Linked DNA regions of Homo sapiens: all the other regions are linked to region 1. Evidence: promoter capture Hi-C in human tissues and cell types (Jung and others, 2019). All regions are on one chromosome and are shown on one strand. Each heading gives the region's core, a stretch centred on a gene start or on the middle of the fragment in contact. The rest is flanking DNA. Distances are from core to core; before and after follow the strand shown.

What was found. Contacts are between HindIII fragments. The study calls those that stand out against the background at their distance.
Region 2: a contact is called between a fragment that was not itself captured here and the fragment with the promoter of MASP1 in region 1, in 2 of the 25 tissues and cell types used here (heart right ventricle and mesendoderm cells).
Region 3: a contact is called between a fragment that was not itself captured here and the fragment with the promoter of MASP1 in region 1, in 1 of the 25 tissues and cell types used here (thymus).
Region 4: a fragment that was not itself captured here is called in contact with the fragment with the promoter of MASP1 in region 1 in 1 of the 25 tissues and cell types used here (liver).

The regions. Positions count from the first base shown.
Region 1 is chr3:187,288,074-187,295,090 of GRCh38, forward strand. MASP1 (MBL associated serine protease 1) reads right to left here and starts at 3,664. Exons shown (of 11, transcript NM_139125.4): 1 at 3,555-3,664. The coding sequence starts at 3,559. LOC101929130 (a long non-coding RNA gene) reads left to right here and starts at 3,199. Exons shown (of 2, transcript NR_135551.1): 1 at 3,199-3,463. The HindIII fragment of the contact is 8,732 bases long and covers 1-7,017 here.
Region 2 is chr3:187,490,419-187,497,435 of GRCh38, forward strand. The region is part of intron 1 of LOC124909471 (a long non-coding RNA gene); the gene reads right to left. Among named protein-coding and RNA genes, the nearest start is that of LINC02041, 47 kb to the left of the region's middle. The HindIII fragment of the contact is 7,793 bases long and covers 146-7,017 here.
Region 3 is chr3:187,473,503-187,480,519 of GRCh38, forward strand. LOC124909471 (a long non-coding RNA gene) reads right to left here. Exons shown (of 2, transcript XR_007096210.1): 2 at 3,982-4,916. Among named protein-coding and RNA genes, the nearest start is that of LINC02041, 30 kb to the left of the region's middle. The HindIII fragment of the contact is 8,570 bases long and covers 1-7,017 here.
Region 4 is chr3:187,111,715-187,118,731 of GRCh38, forward strand. No RefSeq gene overlaps it. Among named protein-coding and RNA genes, the nearest start is that of RPL39L, 24 kb to the right of the region's middle. The HindIII fragment of the contact is 4,041 bases long and covers 2,461-6,501 here.

The DNA of each region.
Region 1 (7,017 bases), core at 2,414-4,913:
AGGACCATGTACTATTTTTTCAATAAAAAGAAAATACATTTATTTAATTTTTTTCAAGGTCCCTACAATAGCAATATGTGAGATTCTATTAAGAAAACAAAATGTCTTAATCCCATAGCCAATGTCAATATTTTCTTAAACCAATCTGTGGAAGGAGGGCCTCAGAGGCAGAAGGAAGGGAAGGCATATGTCCAAGTTAACCTGTGAATTAGTTGGAAAGCTGAGTCAAAAAACCAGGTGGCAGGGCCCAGGCATCCCATTTTCAAGTGAGGAAATGAACCAGTGTTAACAGGGCTGGGAGTTCAGGTTCAGCCCTGCTGAGGAGGGGAGGGCACTGGCCCTGGGTCAAAAGAGCTAGATTCAGCTCCAGCTTTGACTTTATTTATCCTTTCCATTTTAGGAGGTCATGGGAGGTCTTGTTTCCTCATCCATTAAGTAGTAATAATAACGACTTCCCACAGCACTGCTATCAGCGTAAAGGAGGATGGGGAAGTATTTTGTTAACTGTCCAGCCCTAGCCAAACATTAGTTATAATTATTCCATCCTGCCAGTTCCCAAAAAGCAAGAGTCAGGAATGAGCTTTGGCTCCTAAACCGGACTTCCCTATAATAGCGACACCCAAATTATGCAAGGCCGAAAGGTCAACTTCCTCCATGACTGCTTTTTCCAGACCACATCGAGGAGACACTGAGCCTCCTGAGGCCGGTTCTGTCAAGGACTGGCAGCAGACAGCCCTGTGTAGCCCAGAAGCCCGGTGCCATGTGTGGTAGGCAACTGGTCAGCGTGGGAGGAAGGCCCAGGAAGCTTTCCCTTCTACTTTGTTTGCATCTCAAAACGGTTTCAAACATATGAAACAAATATCTCCCTTCATGTAATGGGCTTGAGCATATGCTTGCCTGCTTGCGTTAGGGGCTGTAAATTGAAGAATATAAGTGGCAGCTTTCATTCCTCGTCACACTCTCTGAATGTTTTTGGCTTCTTGTATACGAGGCACCGGCTGTATAGTTCCCAACACCTGCTATCTATCCTCCGGCTAATCAAAAAGTTTAGCTACATTGCAGAAATGTCAAAAGTAATATATAGAGCTGAGATTTCAGAGGCCCCCCGTAGGAACAGGCTAGCAGGACTCTGTAAAAATGCCTGCATATATCTATGATTGCGGCATGAACGGCACTTGCTATCTTTTCCATACACTGTCCGTACACGCCCCTTGTTTCAACCCACTCCACACCAAGACTCCATTTTTGAATTGAAGAGTTGGAAGGGACTGCATGGATCCTTTACAGAGCACCCTAATTTGACAGACGATGAAAAGGATACCCCAAGAGATGTCACATCATGCTCAATACCATATGGTGAATTAACTTCAACAGAAGAAGGGAATAAAAAGAGCTCACAGAAGAAGCTGGGTCCATGCCCATATCATGCCCAGGCATCTGGCCAAAGCAATTAATCCTGTGAAAAATAATTGAAAAACCCATGGCTTTACGTAAAAAATTTAAAAATATTAATGCCAAAGTCCCTCCTCAGGAGGTTCTGGTTTAATTGCTCTGGGGTGAGGCCTGAGCACTGGCATGTTTCAAGGCAGCACAGATCATTCCGACGTACAGTCAGAATTATGAGCCGTCAGTTTAGAATAATACACTTGGCTGAAAGTCTAGTGGAATATAGTAGAAAAAATCCTGAACTTGGAGCCCGAAGACCCAAATTTGAATCTGGACCTTTTCATGATCATCAGTGTGGTTTGGGCAAGTTGCTTAACTGCTTTTATACCCACTACTTATCCATAAATCCTTACTTCATCCAGAATCTGAAACCCCCATGAGACAGTGCTCTTGAAAGTGCTCTGCAAACACTGAAATACTGTATCCATGTGAGACAAGACCTGCTGGAGACTTTTCTAGCAGAGCACCTTTCTCGTAGTTGCTTGGCTATTCAAAAATTGAATTCAATTCAACAAATAGGTATTGAATGGCTGGTAGGAAATAGACATTATGCTAGGTGCTGGCCATACAAAGATGAAGACATAGATCATGTAACTTAAGGAGTGCTGAGACTTGTAAGGGGAGGTGGACATTTAAACAAGGGGATACTACAAGGACAATAAGAGATGCAGCTTCAAGGGACAGAAACAGAACAAAGGACAAAGGAGGGGATGCTCACTCTGGAATATGGTGGTCAGGAGAGAGAAAGAGATATTTGTGCCAGCTTGAACAATCAGGTCTTCTAGGTGGAAAATAAAGAAGAAGGTTGCTCCAGGTTGAGGGATGAGCATATGCAAAGATACAGAATTGTTACTCAGCCAAGTAGTTTGATATGGGCTGGGGCACTGAATGGTAGGGTGGGATTCAGACCAGATCATTGACAGATAAATGAGATTATCATTCAATGTAGATTGACATAAATCACTTTTTTTTGGAGAAAGAAAAATGATGTTTAATGGCAGGTTTAAAATTACTATGGCTTTAAGAAGAACAGAATTATTGCACTCACTTTTTAAGGACCTGGTTATCTCTCTGAACCACAGGTAATCGGAGTTCAAAGAGTTAACATAGTCTGAAGCCTCTCATTGGTCTCAGGTCCAGAAAAGTTGCTAGGTTACTTTGCAGAAGAGAAACAAATAAAAACACTTTCCCAAGTGAAAAGAAAATTAATAGTAAAAGATGTGTTTAGGGACTTACACATCTGCAGAGCATTGTGTGTGTGTGTGTGTGTGTGTGTGTGTGTAACAGCATTAACACTTAACTAATAAAAATAACTAGGGTGGTTGGGTTTTCAGACTTGCAGGATAGAACTTGTATGAAAGGTCTGGTAAGGAGTGTCAAGTATAATGAGGAATAAGAAAGGTTAAAGAGTTTAAAACCAATTAGAATTTGAAGTTCTTGATTTCAGAACTCTAAAATCCTTTTTTTTTTTTTAAGTATGATATCTCTTTAAGAGCCATTTGGTGTACTTCATAGCCTGATTCATGCCACCAGCTGCCTCTGATTTCAATGAGAAATGCAGAAAATTTATAGGGAACTGTAAAATGGGGACAGATTTTTAGTTTTCTAAATTGAGGTTTAACTGGCAAACTTGTAAAGGTTGAAGAAACCACAGAGCCAAGCTATGGGAAGCTGGTTTCTTTTCTGGTCAGAAGGAATGAACACACAAACACATATCTAACTCACAAAGTGCTGGAAGAGAGAAAGCAATGCTCTTTCCAGAGGAGGAACACGGAAAAATCAGCCTTGTGGGTGAACAGGAGGAGAGTCACATTCGCCAGCAGGCAGCACCCTGTGCAGGCAGTGGGAGAAATCTGAGCTTCAGCAGCGTCCGGAGCAGGATTTGCACGAAGTCTCCCGTTTCAAGTTTTATGTCTCCTGGAGTCCTGGGGAAGGCACCCAGCCCACCCACAGCTCCCTTCTCAGAGCCCTAAGAATTGATGAGAAAGCCCCTCACTACCACATGCAGGACACGCAGGTGAGTCTGTCAGTGACAAGGTCAGACCTTCCCTGCTATTTGACACTGGTCCCCAAAAGGGAACCGTGCCCTCTCCTCCCCTGGCACGTACCTCATTTTCCTGCCTTGGGTGCTCCCGGCTGCCCGGCCTTGGTCCTCCCAGCTTGACTTGCCTGTGAGCTCGTGCCCGGTGTGGTGTCCGTGATGCCTTATCTTTGTTCTGAGGTCCCTGTGTGTCTCTGGAATTGGCTGGCATTCTCCATTCAGGTCACGCCTTCCCCTGCCTGCAACAGATCCCCTCTCCCCCTCTCTCCCTCTGGCTTTTCCTCTCTCCTCTCTCTCTCCTTTGACTTGCTCTTGCACTCCCAGGAACCTGACAACAAAATCTGTCTTCCTACCGAAAAGATCTGCTCCTTCCCTTCCCTCCTTTATCCTGTGTGGCTGACTTCAGCCCTTGAGAGAAAATAACTGAGGGGCTCAAGCAGGTATTTGTATCACTCTGTGTGTGTGTGTGTGTGTGTGTGTGTGTGTGTAGAGAGAGAGAGAGAGAGAGAGTGAAAGGGGACAAAGTCTAATTTCTCTTTAGTCTTTTTTGCCAGATGACTATAATTTTCTGCTTTTCTTCAGGACACCCATGAAAGAAAAGCAATTAAATAGAAACAACCAACTAAGAAGGCAATTCTAGCACCTACACTAGAAGAAAAAAAAAAGGTCTAAATCCCAGAGCGTCTGTCTGCAAATAACTACAGGTTTCCTTGTGAGCAGAGCCCCAAATAACTACAGGTTTTCTCGTGATCAGAGTCACACACAACGACAGGTTTTCCTGTGAACAGAGCCACGGGCCCGGAACTGGGGAAGCACCAAGTCCTGAAGTTGGCTGGTTGTTCCTCCCCATGAGCAATACCTGTGGCACTGTTTACTTGCTCGGAGTGTGTGCGGCTCTACTCCAGCCCAGAAAGGGCCCATCGCAGCAAGAAATCTCACCTCCCCAGGGGTGTAGAAAGACCTGGGCCTGTATATATGTCTATACCCATGGCTTCCGGAGAAATCAACACTAGATCTAAGATGAGCTGAATAATAAGAAAATTACCCCCTCCACAACAACAACAACCAACACTGAATAGGGAGAGGTGTATCTGGGTGTAAAAGTTAAGTTTGACTGTGCACCTTTTCTGTGTTAGACACAGTACTAGTCATTAACATCATCTCAAGTTACTTTTGCAAACTGGTGAAAGTGCTGCTGTTATACTCATTTTACAAGTGAGGACACTAAGGCTCAGAGAGAATATGCCACTTGCCAAGATCATCCAGTTATTTATGACTCCCCACTGCCACTAGCACTAGAAGCTAACAGCTATTGAGTGCTACGTGTCAGGCACTGCTCTAAGCACTTAATATATGAATTCTTTTCAGTCATCTTTATATGTTGTATACATGGCTGGCAATATTCTCATTTTTCAGAGGAAATTGCCCAGAGAGGTTAAGTAACTTTCCCAAGTTCACACAGCTAGAAAGTAATAGAGGCAGAATTTGAAGTGTTAGCCACTGTATTACACTGCTACTCATTAACATTTTATAATGCATATGGAATTTCAAATGCACACACACAGACGGCATTCATAGAGAAACTCAATCTGAGTCATTTTGAAAAGAAGATTAGACTCAGAGTTTAGCTGTAATCTTTCCTTTCTACCCAAGACAGCTGTGTACTTTGGGCACAATACTTAAGGTATCTGATTCTGTGTCTTCATTTGGAAAATGGGAGTTACTATGAGGCTTAAATAAGACTGTGCTTGTAGAAGTGTCCAGGGGAGTACCAGAGAGAGGGCTGCCAGCCACACTCACCAAAGCGGCAGACACATGCACTGTCTACCCTCAGATAACGTTCCTTTGGCACGTTCTGGGGAACAGTGGCTTGACTCTCACTGTACTTCTTACTCCATTTTCTCTCCAGTTTCTCTAATTTTCACACTTTTGAATGCCAGCCTTGCCAAGCTTGGCATTATCAAGAGGCTGTGGTTGATAAAGCAGGTACAAGTATATGAGATGGGAGGATATGTTTGAACTCAGGCACTGTTTTAGCAAAATGTGTTCTGTCTCAGTCAGCACAGGAAAAAAAGCTTTTAACATTCCCGTTAAGAAGACTCACAGGCTCCGCACACATTAAATAACTCTCACAAAACAACATTTTAATGATTTACGTGTAAATGAATCAGAAACACATGGACGACATTTCTCTTGGAATACACAAGGGTTTTAAAACTGAAGGAGAAAGAGCTTGGCAAAATGCACACTGTGCTGGGAAGAGGGCCCCTGCCCAGTAAAGACATTCCCTCAATTCATGCTGCCACGGAGTTTGCCCTCTCCTAATTTAGGGCATATACTGGGAACTGCAGTCATTTGTTCTGGGTACAGAGGGAAGAGCTTGGGCGAGAAAGCCATCAGCTTCTCCTTGGAAAGTGTCACAGAGCAATTAGGCCTCCTGGAATAATTTTCTAGCCATGTTTCTTCAAGGCTGCCAATGTTCAATGGAAAGCATTCGAGATGTGTTCTAAGCCAAAGTTCTGCCAATATATAGCAGATCTGATATGTGCGCTTCCCTGGGAGTTAGCCAAGGCTCAGAGGAAATCTGCATAAAAACAGGAACTACGTGGCCCAGGAATGATCTGCATGTGATTCAGGACAGTTTTCTACTTGGTTACACTACATATTGTCTGATGCTTTTGATGAATCTCCCTGAAGTGTCACTAAGAGATCATGGGTCATCAGGGGTGGGAGGAATGGAAGGGACATTAGGCTGGAAACAGAACTGGGCTCAGTGACTATAGGCCAGCTTGCATGTGACCTTGGGTAAGTCACTTACTTTCTCAGGGGTGGGGGTTGAGGGGTGGAGGGGTGGGGCATCAGTGTGTTCAATTATGAAATCAGGGGGTGGGACTCAGTTGAGATCATAGATATCAACATGTGGATATGAAGACTATGAAATGATGTCGTTGGGAGGGGGTTAGGTAGTTTGCTAGACCTAAAAGATTGTCAAGGAGTCCAAAATAGCTCTAATAATCTTGACATTGGCTTTTTCTGTGCTCATAATATTACTGATACTAAGAATTTAATCACAGATATTCAGAAAAAGTAATATTTAAAAAGGTTCAACTAGTTTTTTGAGTTTGGCAAAAGCGATTAAAAAATGCATACAAGGAACTGACATCATTTAGAATCATGAAAGCGTAGAATGACTGAGGTGGGCTCAGCACCCGCGCACTATAGTCCTGTAGTCCGGGAAAGGGATCAGAGAGCTGCCTACTAAGGGTAAATGCGGCAATATTCCTACCACTGGAAGAGGTTTTGGTTTACATGTTCTACCAAAGTATTTATTTTATGCAACTTTTGAGCTAGAGCTTCTGGAATTCAATGAATGGGTTAGAAAACGTAAAGAATTTGGGCAATGACTTTTTGTTGGTAAGGGCTGAAATCCAGGCTTCCTACAGAATATTTGAGAAACTGATAAATAGCTCCAAAGATGGCAGCTTAGAATGAAAATCTGGGTTCTTCAGCACATTGACTGACAGCATGCC
Region 2 (7,017 bases), core at 2,792-5,291, 200 kb after region 1:
GAAAATAAAAGCTGGAAGATGGTGGATAGGAGGCAGGGCTAACATGCATCTTTCACTTGGATGGATAGAACAGTTTGTGGAGATTCACACTGTGAACTTTTATTTCAAGAATCACCACAGGAATGCACCAGGAAAACCAAAAGAATAAACGAAGCCTTTGAAACAAGCAGCAGCACACCACTGCAAACTCCATGAGACAGGCAAAAAACTGTGAGTCCCCAAAGTGTGAGGGGGGAGCCCTGCCTCTGAACACACTTCCTCACTAGGGAATCTGCAAATCTAGATCAGAGGAGAAGGATTCAACCTTACTTAAAGCTTGAAAAGATTTAGGGAGCCATGCAAAATTTAAAAGTAGAAGCAGCAGCAGGAAGAGCTTTGTAGGCATTCCCAGTCTCCAGCTCAAGCCCAGGGAAGCCGTCCCTGACTATATCTGACTATCTCACAGAGGCCCTCAGGGAAGGCAGCTGGTAGAATTAGGGAGGGGCCCAGATGAAAGAAGCTTCCAAGTGAATTTTGTGATAATTTCTAGTGGGCATGAACTTCCTTGAGCAGAATCTTGGGGGTGAACAGGGACTGCTGCAGATCCAAGTGCAGGAGCCACAGCCATTATGAGCAGATGGGGTGGAGTGTGTCACGAAAGCCGCGCTTGCTTTCTCGATGGGGAAGCTTATAGCCTGGGGCAGGTCTGATTTCTGCTTGCAGGCTGCCTGGATTCCAACTCAGCACTGTTAGTGGGGCACTGTGGGAGTGAGACTGGCCTCGACAACTGCATGGGAGTTGAGTGAGGCCTATCATTACCTGCTATCCCTCACTTCCCTGGTGACCCATATGACACAGCAGAGGCAGCCATACTTCCCTCTGGAACATAACACCGTTGGCCTGAGAACCACCCCCATGCTCCACAGTGGCCACAGCAAGCCCTGCCCAAGGAGAGTCTGAGCTCAGACCCACCTAACCCTGTCCCCACCCGATGGCTTTTCTCTATCCACCCTAGTAGCTGAACAAAAAACTATAGCTCTTGGGAGCTTTATGGCCCTGCCGAGTGCCTGAGAAGTCAGAATACCTCCCCTGGCCAAATTAGGGCAAGCTTAAATCCCACTGCTAATACCACAACTGGTGCTGCCTTGAAAGAACCACCTCCTGGCTGGAGGCCAAACAACTCAGGCCATTATAGCAACTCATGACAGAATGATCCTGCTCTCAGGAAAGAGAAAACAATAGTTAATTCCACCACCTGCAGCATTCTAGTTAACTAGAGGTCCTGAGTTTGTCCACATGCCAACTTCACTGCTAGCATAACCAGCATTTGAGAAAGCCAGCACACTAAACCTCTCTACAACCAAAGAATCTCATCACTCCTCTGATGCCTCCTCCAGAGCAGGTGCTGGTATCCACAGCTGGGAGAGCTGAAAAATGATCACATCACTGAACTCTTTGTGGACATTCATCAGCAGCAGTCTGGAGCCCCATAGCCCCACTGGGTGACTAGTCTCAGAAAAGCAATAACAATCACTGCAGTCCAACTCTCAGGGAGCCCCATCTCTAGAGGAAGGGGGAGAGCACCACATCAAGGGATCACCCCATGGGACAAAAGAATCTGAACAGCAGGCCTTGAATTCCACATCCTTCCACTGGTGGGTAGTTTCTCACAGAAGAGATACAATTGCAGTGCTGGGCACAGTAGGGAAAGTCTGCACCTCTACACCAACAGGCAGGCTGCCTCTGTGATTGTGAAGGGCCTTGGAGAAGGGGTCCTTCTTCCCTACTGCCACTCCACCACAAATGCAGCTGGGGCTTCCCCCACAAGAATGCAGTGTGGAGGCACCTGTAGGCAGCATTTCTGGAACAATCCAGGCTGAGTGGAGCCCCACAGGAGGAGCACCCCCCCAGATTCAGGCCTATACAAGCGGCAGTGTCACAATTCCTTCCTACTTGGAACTCAACATTCCTATAGATTAAAAGAGGTGCCTGTCTCATCTGAAGAGCTGCAACACTAGGACAGGAGTGAGGCTTTGAGGTGAAGAGCTTTCCTGCTGACCTGGCAAGAGAGCTGAGGTAGCTCCCACTCTTCACCAAGGTAAAACCTCAGCTCGTCTAATTGAGAGTGCCCCCAGTTACTCATCAAGGCTTGGACCTTGGCCCACCACTGGGTATTATATCTTCCCACCTGCCTTAGCCACACCTGGAGCCTAACCAGGCTTACCTCTCCTATTGACCTGAAGCCTGAATCATCAAATCAGTAAATAAAACACTGGGAAAAAATAAATAAACAAATAAATTGTACACCACTAGGGAACGAGATAAGTTTCAAGAGATCCCTGCCATTTCAACTTGAGAGGAGACGTCGAACTCACCCACACACCAAGAATATAACTACTACAACCAACATTGGGGAAAACCAGCACACAAAGACTCTCTATAACTAAGGAACTCATACAGAGTCTTTACCCCTACAAGCACCAAGAATCAAATTAGACTATAATAAACATTGAAGTCTGATTCTTAAGAGGAAAACACAAAAAAGAAAAGAAAATTAAATCTACAAAACACAGTCCAATCAAAAAAGAATTCAAGAACAATTTGAAGAAATTGTCTACACAAATGAGAAGGAACCAGAAAAGTAGTTCTGGTAACATGAAAAACATAGTTCTATAACACCCCCAAAAGATCACACTAGCTCTCTAGCAATGGATTTAAACCAGGAAGAAACCTCTGAATTGCCATATAAAGAATTCAGAAGGTTAAATATTAAGCTACTCAACGAGATATCAGAGAAAGGTGAAAACCAACTTAAAGAAATTAAAAAAAATACAGGATACGGATGCATAATATTGAAGAAAAATAGATATCATTAGAAAAACAATCACAACTTCTGGAAATGAAAGAAACATTTAGGGAAATACAAAATGCAATGGAAAATTTCAACAATAGGCTAGAACAAGTCGAAGAAAGAGCTTCAGAGCTCAGAGACAAGCCTTTCAAATTAACCCAATTAGACAGAGACAAACAAAAAAGAATAATAAAAAAGTAAACAAAGCTCTCAAGAAAGCTGGGATTATGTTAAATGACCAAACGTAAGAATAATTGGTGTTCCTGAGGAAGAAGAGACATCTAAAACTTTAGAAAACTTATTTGAGGGAATAATTGAGGACGACTTCCCTGGCCTTTGTCTTTTTCAGGCAAACAAATGCTGAGAGAATTCTCCACTACCAAGTTTTTCAGACAAATGATGCTGAGATAATAGTGGGGGACTTCAATACACCACTGACAGCACTAGTCAGGTCATCAAGACAGAAAGTCAACAAAACTACTATTAACACTTTTATGCACACAAACTAAAAAAATGGAGAGATGGATAAATTCTTGGAAACATACAACCCTCCTATATTAAATCAGGAAGAAATAGAAACTCTGAACAGACCAATAACAATTAGCAAGATTGAGACAGTAATAAAAAAAATCGCCAACAACAAAAAAAATCCAGGACCAGATGGATTCACAGCTGCATTCTAGTAGATATTCAAAGAATTGGTACCAATCCTACTGAAACAATTCCAAAAGATAGAGAAAGACAGAATCCTTCGAAATCATTCTGTGAAGCCAGTATCACATTAATACCAAAATCAGAAAAGGATATAACAAAAAGAGAAAACTATAGACCAACATCCCTGATGAACATAGATGCAAAAATCAAATAAATACTAGCTAACCAAATCCAACAGCATATCAAAAAGATAATCCACCATGAACAAATGGCTTTCATACAAAGGATGCACGGATGGTTTAACATACGCAAGTTGATGCATGTGATACACCACATAAGCAGAATTAAAAACAAAAACCACGTGATCATCTCAACAGACACAGAAAAAGCATTTGACAAAATCCAGCATCCCTATATGATTAAAACCCTCAGCAAAATTGGCATAGAAGGGACATAGCTTAAGGTAATAAAAGACATATATTACAAGCCCACAGCCAACATTATACTGAATGGGAAAAAGTTGAAAGCATTCCACCTGAGAAGTAGAACAAGACAAGGATGCCCACTTTCATTACTTCTATTCAACGTAGTCCTGGAAATTCTAGCCAGAGCAATCAGGCAGAAGAAAGAAATGAAGGGCATCCAAGTCGATAAAGAGGAAGTCAAACTGTCGCTGTTCATTGATGATATGATTGTATACCTAGAAAACCCTAAAGACTCATCTGAAAAGCTTCTAGATCTGATAAATGAATTCAATAATGTTTCAGAACACAAAGTCAATGTACAAAAATCAGTAGCACTGCTACATACCAACAATGACCAGGCTGAGAATCAAATCAAGAACTTAACCCCCTTTACAATTGCTGCAAAAAACAAAACAAACAAACAAACAAAAACTTAGGAATATACCTAACCAAGGAGATAAAAGACATCTACAAGGAAAACTACAAAAAGCTGCTGAAAGCAATCATAGATGACGTGAACAAATGGAAACACATCCCATGCTCATGGATTGATAGAATCAATATTGTGAAAATGACCATACTGCCAAAATAAATCTACAAATTCAATGCAATTCCCATCAAAATACTATCATCATTCTTTGCAGAACTAAAAAAAAAATTCTAAAATTTATATGGAACCCCCCCCACCAAAAAAAAGCCTGCATAGCCAAAGCAAGACTAAGCAAAAAGAGCAAATTGGGAGGCATCACATTACCTGACTTCAAACTATACTACGAGACTATCCTTACCTAAACAGCATGGTTCTGGTATAAAAATAAGCATGCAGACCAATGGAACAGAATAGAGAACCCAGAAATAAAGCCAAAGATTTATACCCAACTTGATCATTGACAAAGCATTCAAAAACATGAAGTAGGGAAAGAACACCTACTCATTATCAGGGAAATACAAATTAAAACCACAATTCAGTATACCACCTAACTCCTGCAAGAATGGCCATAATTTAAAAAATCAAAAAATAATAATTGTTGGCATCGATGTGGTGAAAAGAGAACACCTTTACACTGCTGGTGGGAATGTAAACTAGTACAACCACTGTAGAAAACAGTATGGAGATTCCTTAAAGGACTGAAAGTACTTCTACCATTCGACTCAGCAATCTCACTGCTGGTTATCTACCCAAAGGAAAAGAAGTCATTATATGAAAAAGACACTTGCACACACAAGTTTATAGCAGCACAATTCACAAGTGATAAAATATGGAACCAACCTAAATGCCCATCAACTAACAAGTGAATAAAGAAAATGTCGTATATGTACATCATGCAATACTATAAAAGGAACAAAATAATGGCTTTTGTAGCAACTTCGATGAAGTTAGAGACCACTTTCTAAGCTAAGTAACTCAGGAGTGGAAAACCAAATATCGTATGTTCCCACTTATAAGTGGGAGTTAAGCTATGAGGATGCAAAGGCATAAGAATGGTATAATGGACTTTGAGGACTCGAGGGGAAGGATGGGAGGGTAGAGATAAAATATTACACATTGGGTACAGTGTGTACTGCTCGGGTCATGGGTGCACCGAAAACTCAGAAATCACCAGTAAAGAACTTATTCATGTAACCAAAAACCACCTGTTTCCCCAAAACCTACTGAAATAAAAAAATAAAATAATATCTAAGTTGCAGATTTGGGAGAAAATATTTGCATAATATATATCTAACAAAGGACTTTTATCCAGAATAAAGAATTGTTACAACTGTAAAATGAGAAGACAAGGAACATAATTTGTTTAAATGGGCAAATGATTTCAACTGGCACTTTACCAAAGAAGACACATAGATGGCATACAAAAAAAAGCTGAACATTATGAGTTATTAGTGAAATGCAAATTGAACCGAAATGGGATACAACTACACTTTGACTAGAATGGCCAAAATTTAAAAATATGATGAAACAAAATGATAATTCCAAATGTTAACATGATGTGGAGAAATTAGAACTCTCAAATACTACTGGTTTGAATATATAAAGTGGTACAACGATTTTGGAAAACAGTTTGGCACTTTCTTAAAAAGTTGAACATTCTTTTACCATACAATCCAGCTATTCCATTCCTAAGTAAATATTTTTCCAAGAGCTATGAAAACATACATTCATAGAAAAGGTGCACTTAAATAATTATGGCAGCACTATTTTTATCAGCCAAAAATTGAAGTCCACTGAATGTCTATCAATGGCTTAATGTAAACAAATTGTGGTAAATCCATAAAATGGAACAGTATTTGGCAACAAGATTATTGATTGATGGATAAAGTTGAAAGTAATTATACTAAGTCCAAGAAGCCAGACAAAAAGTACAATTATATGATTCCATTGTATAAAATTCTAGACAATGAAAACTAATCTACAGTGACAGAAAGCAATTCAATGTTTTCCTGGTGAAAGAGAGATAAATATTTTACCAAATGGCATGAGAAGACTTTCTGGGTTAATGGAAATCTTTTTCATCTTAATTGTGGCATGGTTACAGGGTCTATACATATTACAACATTTGTCCAATTTTGTACAGTAAATATATACAGTTTATCATACATATTTATCCCTTAATAAAATTGTAAATGCCTTTATAAAACAAACAAAAGAAGGAAGGAAGGGAGACAAATTTTTGGCAGGGGGCTAGACAGAATTCTCAGTGAGAAAGGCATATAAGAAAGATATTGAGGAATTGGTGGAAAGAGAATTCAAGAAAAAGCAATGATCTATTAAAAAGGGCTTTGAATCAATAGCATTGTGTCAACCTTTTTTTAAATCCTGGGTTCATTCGGATTAGCTTTATGGAAGAGGTAATCTGAGAAGAGGCTTAAGCTGTGGTTTTAGAGTATGAGCTGCAATATGACACATGATGCTGTGCAGAGTACAAGAAAAAAGAATATTAAATCACAGGCTTAAAAGTGTCACCTTGTCACATTCTCTACCTCCAAGCAAGGTTTATTTCAGAGGCATTTGGAGAAGACAGTGTTCCACAGCCCATTTCTCTAAAATGTGTTCATAATATCAGGAACTAT
Region 3 (7,017 bases), core at 3,014-5,513, 190 kb after region 1:
AAAAAGAGGGTTTTTTTTTGTGGTAAGAAAGCTTAAAGAGAAATAATTTTGGCCAGGTGCAGTGACTCACGCCTGTAATCCCAGCACTTTGGGAGGCTGAGGTGGGTGGATCACAAGGTAGGAGATCGAGACCATCCTGGCCAACATGGTGAAACCTTGTTTCTACTAAAACACAAAAAATTAGGCAGGTGTGGTGGCACGCGCCTGTAGTCCAAGCTACTTGGGAGGCAGAGGCAGGGGAATCGCTTGAACCTGGGAGGTGGAGGTTGCAGTGAGCCGAGATTGTGCCATTGCACTCCAGCCTGGTGACAGAGCAAGACTCCATCTCAAAAAAAGAAAGAGAAATAATTTTATATGAGAAATAATCTTGTATGGCAAATTTAGACCTAAAATAAAATGTCTGGTTGTTTAAGAAATAGAGATGTTCAGGACAAACCAGAAAGTCCAAGCATGTCATGAATGGTATGTGTAAGTCACAATAAGTATTTCTTAAATAAAATTTTTAAAAAACCCAAAACTTTTATATGATCAAGTTGTTTATAATTAAAGGGAAATTATAATGCTCTTTCTAGAGATTTGGCTTGATGCAAAAAAAACCACTTATACACTAAGTTATTGATTAGAACAATGACATTTTCTTAAGAGGTTGATTCACTCTTAATAAATTATAAGAGATTTTAATTCTTTTTTTAACCCAAAGTTTAACTTTTGTTGCATCTTGCTGTTTCTCTCCCCTTTTAAAAGGTACATTTTCTTAAAGGTCTAAGGGAAATGTTTTCTTCCAACATAATATTCTGTGCACTGTGGAAGATATTTTCTTTTGCCTTTTGGTAACTTGTGTAATGGATTTTATGTTTTATCAAAATAATTAGTATGCCATTATTATTAACTTTGTTTTGCTTCCCAGGAAAAAACTGAAATTTAATTTTTTTAAAAAATTAAGTTTATTATATTCATGTATCTTCCTGTATGTGCTTTTAAAGTCCTTGTGACATTGAGTTACAGGACTTTGACTCCTGGATCTAAAACGGCCACCAAGTCCGGCTAAATCTTAAACACTGACAGCCCTGTAATAGATGGCACATAAAATTAACTGCATTACTGAGACCCAGGGCCAGAAATTAAATCTATTCAGCTCTTCAAGGCCCAGGGACTATTTCAGTAGAGGTGGGCATGTGAGATTGTAAGGGCCAACTTTAAAAGATAAAAATAAGTTCAGTTTCTCTATAAATTAATCATTAATGTCAAAGGCACACTGATGCAAGACCAGCATATGGGCCCCTGTGTCAGATTAACAAGGTTTTCTTGAGGCATTAACTGATTCCTTAATAATGGTTATAAAGGTTATAAAAGGCTTCTGGAAGTTATATCTTATGGTAAAGATTTAAATGTTATAGATTGTTTATACATTTTGAAAAACAAATTTAATTGGCTTCATACTGTTTTTATTAGGGCTTATTGTTTGGGAAATTAAATCTCCTCTCTAAAAGAATAAAGGTTTTGCCTGTTTTTGAAATCTTTGAGTTATTACTTTGGTTAAAAGAATGACTTATTTTACAATGACTTGTGATCCTATTTTGTGATATCAAGTGTTTTAAACCTTTGATATTTGACAAACTTTTCAAAATCAAATTATAAATTATGTCTTTTTCTGACTTAATTAATCCTCTAAGATATTAGTTTCCCTAAAGTCCAAAAATGACATAATTTTGACATTTAGTAGTACAAAAATTATATAGGAAGCATTATCAAATATAAAATGGTGTTTGGTTTTCTTTGTTAATTTGTATAAATACGTTGTTGATATGTATTCTAAAATTTTGGGACACTCCTGTAATTCTGATATGACTTTACCAGTAATAATGATAATTGTTAAAATTATTGTCTGCCACAGAGGTAACAAATTTCCTTGTCAATTTTGTCTTTGACTATGGGTTCCCTAAAACTTTTTGTCATCCTTGGACAATGGTTGTGTTGTTTTGGTCCTCTTTGGAAGGTGGTTTTATAATCATCTATAAAACTATAACAGGTGCTCTCGAATGCAGGTTTCTGATAACTTTGGAGACTGTGACATCAGAATAAAGGAAAAACTTTCAGGACTCATGCATAGAGTGCTAAAATGTTCATGAATATCAACCAGAACAGGAATTAACTGCATGGACTGAACTAATCTTTTTGACTTTTTGCTTAAAATGTTGCTGATCATTTGTTTTGTTTTTCAGAGTCTTGAAACTTTTCTTCTGAGCTATTGACAGTTTTGGCAATTTAGTATACTCTTATGAACAAAATTTGGAGCACATTTGTTTCTCTCTACCTGATTTCTCCAGAATTTGGAAACTATTTGTGAGTATTCTTAATTTATGGCAATCCAGTTATTTGCATAAGTGCAACAAGAATTTGTTTTCATTTGTAACAGGACACAATTGGAGAAATTTGTTATTTTACCAAGGCTTTGACTGGAATGGTGTGTTGTCCTTTAAGGAATCAAACTTGACTCATGGAACCAAAAAAGTCCTTGGGAAAACTGGCCTCATAGTTTACACAGTCCCTCTACAGGGTTTCTGACCTATGGTAAGTAAAGAATGTCATTTTCAGAAAGGCCCAGGAGCCCCAAATTTATCTTGGAACCTCAAGAGGAGGGGAAATTCACCCAACTCATAGGTATTTGATGGTACAAGTCCATGGTTGGGTTCAGCTTTAAAAGTCTTATCTGAGATTCCTTCTATAGTAAAAACTTCCATCAAAGCCAAATTTTAAAAACATATGTGAAAAATAATTATTCTTGCTGCACTTTATACAAATAATCTGACCAAATATAATAAAGCAAATCAGTCCTACCATGATTTGTCTTTAGTAAAAATGGAAAACTGGAGAGAGAAAAATTATGTTTCAAAAACTATTGTACACTTGTTGTTAGATTTGAGTCTTTCCTAATGTTTTTCAATTTTTATTATTTTCTACAGTTTGGGCTAAATTATAATTTTTCCTGGCTACAAGTTTTCAAAATAATATTTTTAATTTTTTTCTTCTTTCTTTTCCTTTTCCCCCCATTTTTGTCCTAATTTGAAATCACTGAAAACAAAGCTGTGTTTTCTTAAAACCCTGTGAACTGAAGCCAGACACCTTAAACTTCAGAAGAAAATAACAGCAACCTATTTACATACATAAGCCACTTTCATATCTGCCTACTAATGTATGGACTTCAGAGTAATGTGACCTATATCAATTTTCCAGGATCCTTCTTTTGTTTGTTGTTGTTTTTCTCCTTTCCTCCCCCTCCTTTCTCTTCATAGGACATGAGACTTCACAATCTGCTAAAAATGAGCTTTCAGGAGCTACCCATCTAGAAATAAACTGTCCTAGCCATGAGAGATCAGATGAAACCTGAGACCAGAAACTAATTTCCTTCTAAAATGCTTTCTCCAAAAGATTTTTTAAAAGAAAAGAGGGGAAATGTGACAGGAAAATCTTGGGGCCACGAAATTACTAAGCTAATGGAAAAAGTCAAGCTGGGAACTGCTCAGGGCAAATCTGCCTCCCTTTGTATTCAAAGTCATCCCTCTGCTCACTGAGATAAATGCATATCCGGTTACCTCCTTTGGGAAATCTTATCAGAAACTCAAAATAATGCAATTATTTGCCTGTTGCCTACCTGTGACTTGGAAGCCCCCTCCCTGCTTCGGGTTGTCCTCATCTTTCTGGAGGGAATCAATGTACTTCTTACATATATTGATTGATGTCTCATGTCTTCCTAAAATATGTAAGACCAAGCTGTGCCCTGACCACCTTGGGCACATGTTGTCAGGACTTCCTGAGGCTGTGTTACAGGTGCACATCTTCAACCTTGGCAAAATAAACTTTATAAATTAACTGAGACCTCTCTCAAATTTTGGGGTTTCACAGTCATAGAGGTAATAATTGATGGAGCTATAACTGCTTGAGGGGTTCTTCCTGCCCAATGCATAAAGAAAGACCATGGCATTGTGGTAGAGAAAGAGTTTAATAGGCACAAGGCCAGCCACACCACATGGGAGATGGAGTTCCTACTCAAATCATCTCATCAGAAGCTCATAGGTTAGGCGACTTTCAAAGGCAGTTTGAGGGAAAAGGTGGGGGTGGCCAGGTAACAGGTGCTTGCTGCTGATTGGCTGGGTAGAGATAAAATCATAGGGAGTCTAAGTTGTCCTTCTGAATTGCTTTGCTTCTGGGCACAGGAGGGGGTTGGAGCCATGGATTTCAGACATACAAAAAAACCTGGAAAGATATCTCAAAAGGCCAATCTATAATAGTGGTTTTATTTTCAGGAATAATTGGGGAAGTTACATATCTTATAACCTCCGGAATAATGGCTGGCCTTCATTTATGTCTGTGCCTTAGCAGGACTCAGGCCCCTCTCCTCCCCCAAGTATGGAGGCCTCCCATTAGCTTTACAAAAGCAGTTGAGTTTTGGGCAAGGCCTATTATCATTTACACTGTCGCCTAAATGTCTTCCAAAGTTAGCCCAGCAGCCCAGAAATAATTAAGGGAAAGGCAAGGGGTGGGGAGAGTTGGCTTAGCTTACTGTTATAATTTTTCTCACTGATATAATTTTTGCAAAGACAGTTTCAGAGCCAGTTCTCAAACCCAGGTCTGTCTGATTCAAGCTGTGTTCTAAACACCAATGTTCTAACCATTTTATTTCTTTCTGAGCCTCAATTTCTTTACTGTAAAATGAGGCAGTGCAACAGATCATAGGACTTCACAAGTCTTTTTCAGCTCTGGAAGAATATGAATCCAACAGTGCAGATTGGAGTTTAGGATGGAGCTTGTCTTCCTTGCCTTCTGCTCTTTCTGATTCTCTCTGGAGAGAAAGGAGCTCTGTCTTCAAGTTGGAAGGATTGTCTTATGAAGGAGTGAGCTGGATCAGTCTCTGAGCCCTGAAGCAACAGATGCTAAATGAAAATTATATTCAGTTCCACAACAACTCTCTAACATGCAAAACACTTAGTGTCCTATATGTATTGTGAGTCTAATAATTTTTAGGAGCAAATAAAGAGTTTAAAACTTGGGAAACTTACCACCAGGTGTAATCTGAAGACATGCCTACATCTAACTTAGAGGCTAACTCTGATGTGGAGTTAAGCTGAATTTTTGAGGCTGCCATGGCCAATGAACCAGAAAATATGTATATATCTTAGAGTGGGAAGGACTTGAGAGATCACATTGCCCATCACCTTCATTTTATATATGAGTGAACTGAGGCCAAGAGAGGGTCAAGAGTTGTGTGGTGACCCAGACATAGAATACTGCCCTGAGCTATTATAGCAACCCTGTGTAACAATTAGAAAATTTTAACTACAACAAGCTTAATGATCCATGGGTTTTCTTGAAGTGTATTTCACACAAAAGGAGGAATATCTGAAATCTGAACTGCAATACCACCAGCTTCCCCAAGAAGATTTAAGCAGTCTTTTCTGCCACACTGACTGGATACACCTCTGATATGGTTTGGATTTGTTTCCCTGCCCAAATTGCAATTGAATTATAATCTCCAATGTTGGAGAAGGGGTCTGTTGGGAGGTGATGGGATCATGGGGGTGGATTTCCCCCATGCTATTCTCATGATAGTGAGTGAGTTCTCATGACATTTGGTTTTCAGAAGAGTGTAGCACCTCCCCCTTGGCTGTCTTCCTCCTGTTCCATCCATGTAAGACATGCCTACTTCCCCTTCACCTTCTGCCATGATTGTAAGTTTCCTGAGGCCTCCCCAGCCATGGTTCTCGTATAGCCTCCAGACCCATGAGCCAATTAAACCTCTTTTTATTATAAATTACCCAGTCTCAAGTAGTTCTTTATAGCAACACAAGAACAGACTAATGCAATCTCCCATTTGAGTGCTGTTCATCTCAGACATTATTTCAGATGGCACTATAGTTCTTTGCAATCTCAGCCTATGATGCTGTTATTATCTATACTTTTAAGAATATATTTAGCAGTGTTAAACTTGCTGAAGTTGCTCAGCTCCATCCAATAAAAGGATTGACCAAGAGCAAATTAGCATTTCATTAACTATTTTAAATATAATACTAACTTATTGAGCAATGATGACAGGATGTCTCAGAAATGGTAATACATTGAATTGCCCTTCAAATTCAGATTCTCCCATGCTTATGAGAAAATTACAAAAGGGAGATGTGGGCTGAGAAAGCAAAGATATTTCATCTTCATCATAGAAGAGGCGTATCTTAAAAGCAATGAGAATGATTTGTTTGCATGGCAATTTTCAGAGTAGAGTTCCAGAAAAAAGTTGCAAAAGAGTCAGAATCACTCTCTCAAAGCCAGATTATGGGTAGACTCTTTTGAGATCCCATGCCAAGGACCTTGAGAGAAACTGATGGTGGAAGGGACAGAATCAGGCCACTCTGGGAGTTTACCTGACTTGCAAGCTGACTGAATGTGGTGGCTGTCAGTTCAAACTGCATGGTCTAGATGAATGTGAGAACTCAACTCATATGAGCTGGTAGAGCCAGAATACAAAGTTCCACCTGAGTTGTGGGGCATGAATCAGGAGCACCCAGGCAATGGTGATGTTGACTCAGGTACTTGCAACAACATGGTGACACAGTCCAGATGAACAGCTTGTTTGAGCAGGACCCCAGGACCAACTGGAGGGAAATAGGGTGGGCAGGAGAAAAAGGATCTAGTAACCCAAGAGGAGGAGAATGTCCAGACCCAGAGTGTGGAGGCCTAGTCACAGTGGCTAGTATATATAAACATTACAGACTCAGCAGGAAATTATGGTATCAAAGTGTGTTTATATTGACTGGGCAAGCATAGCTAGAAGCAAGTAAAGATTGTAGCTTGAGTGAGGGAGCATGCTGGAAAAGAGTTCACCTAGGCATAGTGAATAGCATGTCAAAGAAGGTGAATTATTCTAGATCTCCCCTGAAGGATGTGCCAGATCTCTAGGATTGACTCAGGAAAGAAGGGGAGCAGGGCCGTAATGCCTATACCACAACAAGGCCAGGAAGGTGGGGA
Region 4 (7,017 bases), core at 3,231-5,730, 180 kb before region 1:
ATTATAGTATTCACTTTCATTTTCCTAAAGGATATGATTATACTGCCATGTTTTTGTTTTTTGACTTTAAATATTATTTACTACAATAGATGATAAAGATTTAGCCATCTTACAATTCACACCTCATCCACACACAATTCTTCTATACCCCACTCCTAATGTAGTTATAATAGCATCATATTTGGTTAAGTCAATATTCAAAGATTATATGTTTTGACTATGTAAATGTTATTTACAGCTGAGTTATGTATGGGTTTCATGGTTACATTTTCTTTCCCCGCCCCCTGCATTTTTTTTTTTTTTTTGAGAGAGAGTTTCCCTCTTGTTGCCCAGGCTGGAGTGCAATGACGTGATCTCAGCTCAACACAACCTCCGCCTCTGTGGTTCAAGCGATTCTCCTGCCTCAGCCTCCCGAGTAGCTGGGATTACAGGCATGTGCCACCATGCCCAGCTAATTTTGTATTTTTAGTAGAGACAGGGTTTCTCCATGTTGGTCAGGCTGGTTTCGAACTCCTGACCTCAGATGATCCACCTGCCTCAGCCTCCCAAAGTGCTAGGATTACAGGTGTGAGCTATTGCACCTGGCCTCTTTCCTTTTCTTTAACCACCCCCCTACCCTGGAGTTAATGATTACATTTTTTTGTTTGCTTAGTATTCTTTTGTAATATCACCAGTTTATCCCCAAATTCTGACACAGCTGTCAAACTTTTGTTGGTACAATTATTTATAAATATTAAATATTCTATAAGCTTCTTTTTAATCCTTCCTTCCTTTCTCTTTCTCTTTTCTCTTCTCTTTTCTTCTTCCTTCCTTCCTTCCTTCCTTCCTTCCTTCCTTCCTCTCTCTCTCTCTCTTTCTTTCGAGACAGAATCTCACTCTGTCGCACAGGCTGGAGTGCAGTGGCATGGTCTTGGCTCACTGTAACCTCTGCCTCCCTACCTCAAGCAATTCTCCCACCTCCGCCTCCTAAGTCGCTGGGACTACAGGTGTGTGCCACCACACCTGGCTAATTTTTGTATTTTCAGTAGAGACAGGGTTTTGTCACATTGGCCGGGCTGGTCTTGAACTCCTGACCTCAAGCGATCCGCCCGCTTTGGCCTCCCAAAGTGCTGGGATTACAGGCATGAGCCACCACGCCTGGCCTATAAGCTTCATTTTGGAGGGGAGTCTCTGGGGGCGCTGTCTCTCCTGAACTGGTGATCTCTAACCCTACATTAAACAAGTGTTCTCCTAGAACTTCATTTCATCATCATCTTAGGAATTTCCTTTGCTCCTCTGTGAATCTTGTTCCTTTTTCCCTCACACTGCTTCTTTCTTAGTTTACATCTCCTTGCTTTTGTGGGACATACCAGAACGTGGTTTTTAGAGAGAGAGGGCACATGGGAGGAGGCAGCAGGGTGAAGGTGGGAATGGATGGCTCAGAGGAAACATGCCATATAAGGAAATGTGAAGTTATCACCTGACAGTAATGCAAGGACACCGTGTTGTGTGCTCTTGGAGGTTCTTCCTTCAGAGACAATAAATTTCAACTATACTGGATTTGAAAGGTAAAGCCTTTAAGATAGAGCTTTATATTTTTTGGTGTGCATAACAGGCTTGGATATCTCCTGGAAGACACACTATTCCTCCCCCAAGTACCAAAACACAATCATTAAAGAAGCTGTACTTCACCACATTGACAGAAGAGGGCACCATTAAATGAAGAATCTTGTAAATTAGCCCACATCCACAAAAAGAATTACAAAAAATGGAATAAATCTATGCAAAGCTTCTTAAAGAAAGAGACTCAACACACCTCAAGTGATAAAAATTTTCCACCACTCCAAGGGAGGTAAATACAAAAATGACCATGAAGCAGAGGAAAACTGCAATGCTACACTCCAGACTCAAATAACCTCAAACAAGTATAGACATGTGAAAAGCTATACATATATATACATATATGTGTATATATGTATATATATGTATATATGTGTGTATATATGTATATATTTGAACCTCCCAGGTTCAAACATAAATTTTAGAACTATATTTATTTTTTGAACCTCCCAGGTTCAAGAGATTCTCCTGCCTTAGCCTCCCAAGTAGCTGGGATTACAGGTGGGCGCCATCACACCCAGGGAATTTTTGTATTTTTAGTAGAGACGGGGTTTCACCATGTTGTCCAGACTGGTCTCAAACTCCTAACCTCAAGTGATCCACCTGTCTTGGCCTCCCAGAGTGCTGGGATTACAGGCATGAGCCACTGCGCCTGGCCTGAAAAACTATCTTTAATCAGAAATTAAAATATAAATGGATTTAGAAAAAAATGGGAAGTAATGAACAGTGTGTTGATTGAACTCAGAAAGAAAATAAAAGAAAAAGAAAAATAATCTTAGGATTGAAACATAAATTTTAAGAGGGTACTTATATTGGTTTCCTAGGGCTATCTTAACAGATTACTATAAACTGAGAGCTTGAAACAATAGGAATTTATTTTCCCACAGTTCTGGAGGCCAGAGGTCTCAAATCAAGGGGCTGGCAGGGCTTGTTTCTTCCCGAGGCTCTGAGGGAAGGGTCTGCTCTATCTCTCCTTCATAGCTTCTGGGGGCTGCCAGCAATCCTTGTTGTTCTTTGGTTTATAGATGCGTCACTCTAATCTCCACCTTCCTTCCCACATTACCATCGTTTCTATGTGTCTTCTCTCCTTCTATTCTAAGGATACTTGGAATTGGAATTAGGGCTCAACCAGAAAACCTAGGATGATTTTATCTTGAGATACTTAATTACACCTGCAAAGACCCTTTTTCCAAATAAGATCATATTCCCAGGTTCTGAGTAGACATTTTTGGGGTGTGGGGGTGGGCGTGGTCATCATCACCTCGCTATAGCACCCAAAGGAGAATGTACTCAGATGGAAATTTAATATGGGCACTGAACAAAGGCAAACAAGCAAGAAAATGAAATGAAATAAAGAAGTGAAATGGGTCAGGAAGAAAGTGATTGACAGGGAAGACAGTCCAAAGCAACACTGGTATAACTGGAGTACATGAAGAAGAAATAGCAAACAATGTAACTATCATTTAAAACTATAATTGAACTGTTGAACTGGGTGACAGGGTGAGACCCTGTCCCTAAAAAAACAAAAACAGAACTGTAATAGAAGAAGAAAGCTTTCCAGGAGTAAATACAGGTTTAACTTTAAAAATGCCCAAACTATTCCCTATTTTTTATTCCCACCAGCAATGTATGAGAATTTCAGTTGCTTTGCATCCTTGACAGCACTTGCTATTGTCAACTGTATTCTTTTGCTTTTTTTTTTGTTTATTCATTCTTATAGGTCAATAGTGGTATTTTACTGTAGCTTTATTTTGTATATCCTAAAAATGATGTTAATTGCATATCACTATGAACCTCTTTTAATGTGCTTATTTGCCAACTACATATCATCTATGATGAAGCGTCTGTTCAAATTCTTTGCCTGTTTTATAAATTGTTGTTTCCTTATTATTGAACTTTGATAGTTCTTTTTATAATCTGGATATAAGGCTCTTATTTGATATATGTAGTATACAGAGATATCTAGAGAGAGCAAATATTCTGCTTCTGATGTTACTTTTCATTCTCTTAATGTCTTAAAGAGAAATGATTTTAAATTTAATAAAGTCCAACTTATCAAGTTTTTAATTTTATGAATTGTGTTTTTGTTGTCATATTTAAGACACCTCTGCCTCACCCAAACTTAAGAATATTTCTTTTATGCTGTCTTCTAGAAGCTTTATACCATTAGATTTTACATTTAGGTCTATGATCCCATTAGAGTTTATTTTTGTATATGGTACAAGATATGGATCAAGGTGGGTTTTTTTTTTAACATGTAGATGTGCATAATTTGTTGTAAAGACTATCCTTTGTCCACTGAATTGCCTTTGCACCTTTGTCAAAAGTTCATTGATCCTCTATGCATCGATCTATTTTTTAAATTTCCTGTCTTGTTTCTTCATTCTACTTGTCTATCTTACTTCACCAAGCCTACATTAGCTCAATTACTATAGCTTTACCATAAGTGTTAAAATCAGTTAGGGCCCAGTGTGGTGGCTCATGTCTGTAATTCTAGCATTTTGGGAGGCCAAGGCAGAAGGATCACTTGAGCCCAGGAGTTTGAGATCCACCTGGGCAACATAGGGAGACCTCATCTCTACAAAAAATTTTAAAAATTAAAAAAACTAAAATCAGTTAGTATGAACCCTCCAAATTTGTTGCTTTTTTCAAAATTATTTCGGGTATTCTACATTCTTTGCATTTCCACATAAATTTTAGAATCAACTTATTTCTACAGGAAAGCCTATTATGTTTCTGATTGGAATTGTGTTAAATCTATAGGTCAATTTGAAGAAAAATGACATTTTACCACTACTGAGTTCTCCAATCTATGAATACAGTATATCTCTCCATTTATTTAAGGCTTTGCTTTCTTTCAGCAGTGTTTTGCAGTTTTCAGCATACAATCCTTTGCATATTTTTGTTAGATTTATTCTTAAGTATTTTGTTTTTTGATGTATTGTAAATGGTACTATGGTAGTATTTTAAAATTTTTAATTTCCAATCATTTATTTTTATAATACTGAAATTCAATTGTGTTTTGAATATTAGCCATATATATTGTGACTTGCTAACCTCACCTGTTGGTTCTAGGATCTATTTTATAGAATATTTGGGGTTTTTATATCTAGACAATAATTTCATTAATGCATAGAAACAAATACTGGAAGAAAAGGTGAGGCAAATTCATTTAAAAAATGGGTATAGAGAAAGGATTTCTAATTATGACTCAGAATCTCGATATAGTAAAAACAATTTGATAAATTTTGTTGCATAAAAAACCTTTTGTGTGGGAAAATACCATAAACAAAGTAAAAATACAACGGAGAAATTTGAAGAAAAAATTTGCAACATACATCAGAAAGGGCTAATATCCCTAATATATAAAGAACTCTTAAAAATGGAGAGGAAAAAGTCCAAAAATATGACATGAAAATGGGCTTAAAACATGAACAGACCACACACACACAAACACGATATAAAAATGGCCCTTACACATATGAAAAGGTGTTCAACCTCACTCAAACAAATGAATGCAAATTAAGACTATACTGAGATACCGTTTCTCACCTACCAGATGGGGAAAATTAGATAGTGTGATGCCATTCTGATGAAAGGCTGTGAGAAGAGAAGACAGCTGTGAGGGGTTTTCAGCACTCGGCTCTCCAGTTCATCCTTCTACATGAGTTTCAGTGATGATCAAGGAAGATACGTGAGGAGAAGAGAGTGCCTGTGCTGTTTGGTGCAGACTTAGAAAGGATGTTGGGAACAAAGCACTGGGGTGTTCTGGAGATGTTATCTGAGTTCCAAAGAGTGGATTTAATACATTTTTTAAAAATTTTCTAATTCCACAGGTTATTGGGGAACAGGTGGTGTTTGGTTACATAAGTTAAGTTCTTTAGTGGTAATTTGTGAGATTTTCGGTTCACCCATCACCCAAGCAGTATACACTGCACCCAGTTTGTAGTCTTTTATTCCTCACTCCCTTCCCACCCTTTCCCCCTGAGTCCCAAAGTCCATTGTGTCATTCTTATGCCTTTGCATCCTCATACTTAGCTCCCACTTATGAGTGAGAACATACAATATTTGATTTTCCATTCCTGAGTTACTTCACTTAGAATAATAGTCTCCAATCTCATCCAGGTTTCTGCGAATGCCATTAATTAATTCCTTTTTATGGCTGAGTAGTATTCCATCATCCATCTATCATCTATCTATCTATCTATCTATCTATCTATCTATCTATCTATCTATCTATAAAAAACAGTTTCTTCATCCACTCATTGATTGATGGGCATTTGGGTTGGTTCCACATTTTTGCAATTACGAAATGTGCTGCTATAAACATGTGTGTGCAGGTATCTTTTTCGTATAATGACTTTTTTTCCTCTGGGTAGATACCCCGTAGTGGGATTGCTGGATCAAATGTAGACCTATACTGAACATACCCATTTACATCATCCTACAATTTCAAGTATATTTTCTCATATGATATGTGGCAAACAAAAGACATCTGTATCTTTTGATATGTGCTCTCTGTTAAGGTTGGTGCTGGTGCTTGAGAGTGACCTAAATTTTATGGGTCCCATCAAATGGAGGAAAAATTCTCTATAATTGACCTCAGATTTCATTAGGTGACAGATGGCCTATGCTCAGAACATAATCTATTAGAATCAGAAAACTACCTATTGTCTTGGATATTTATGGCAAATTATTAAAATGTTTTCAATCATCAATGCTAGCGTGTAGTCACAGCCCTTGGTGCAGCCTAAAGACAGATGAGCCCAAACCCCCACTCAGAAACAGACCATACCAAGGTAGAGAGGTTCAGCCAACCCACCCAGCTCAACTCAGCTCAGAGTCAGACCTCTGACACTCTAAAGTAGCATTTTATGAAAACCTTGTTTTATTGCCTCAGTTTATGAAGCTGTTTTCAATCTCATTCAAGCCTTGTAACTCAGTGAGGAAGTCGGCTGTCTGATATATCCAGGTGAAATACAATAATTAAGGCCCAGAGAGGTTCTCTACCAGTTGTCCAACATCATAAAACTGATGGGAAGAGCCATAACTTCAAGCTACCCGAATCCTAGTCCTTTGCTTTTTGTTTCTATTGTGGAAGAATTCTTCCCAGAAACAGGATCACTCCCACAAGCAGGGATTCCATTATTTCAAAATTGAGTCAGGAATCTTAAGATTATGGGAGTAAAGCCTTGTTCAATTAACTAGACTCAAGATACAGAAACCAAGATGGGTGTGGTGGCTCATGGCTGGAATTCCAGCACTTTGAGAGGCCAAGGTGGAAGGACTGCTTGAGGCTAGGAGTTGGAGACCAGCCTGGGCAACACAGTGAGGCCCTGTCTCTATAAAAAGTAAAAAATTAGCTGGGCATGGTGGTGCACACCTGTTATCCTAGCTACTCAGGAGGATGAGGTGGGA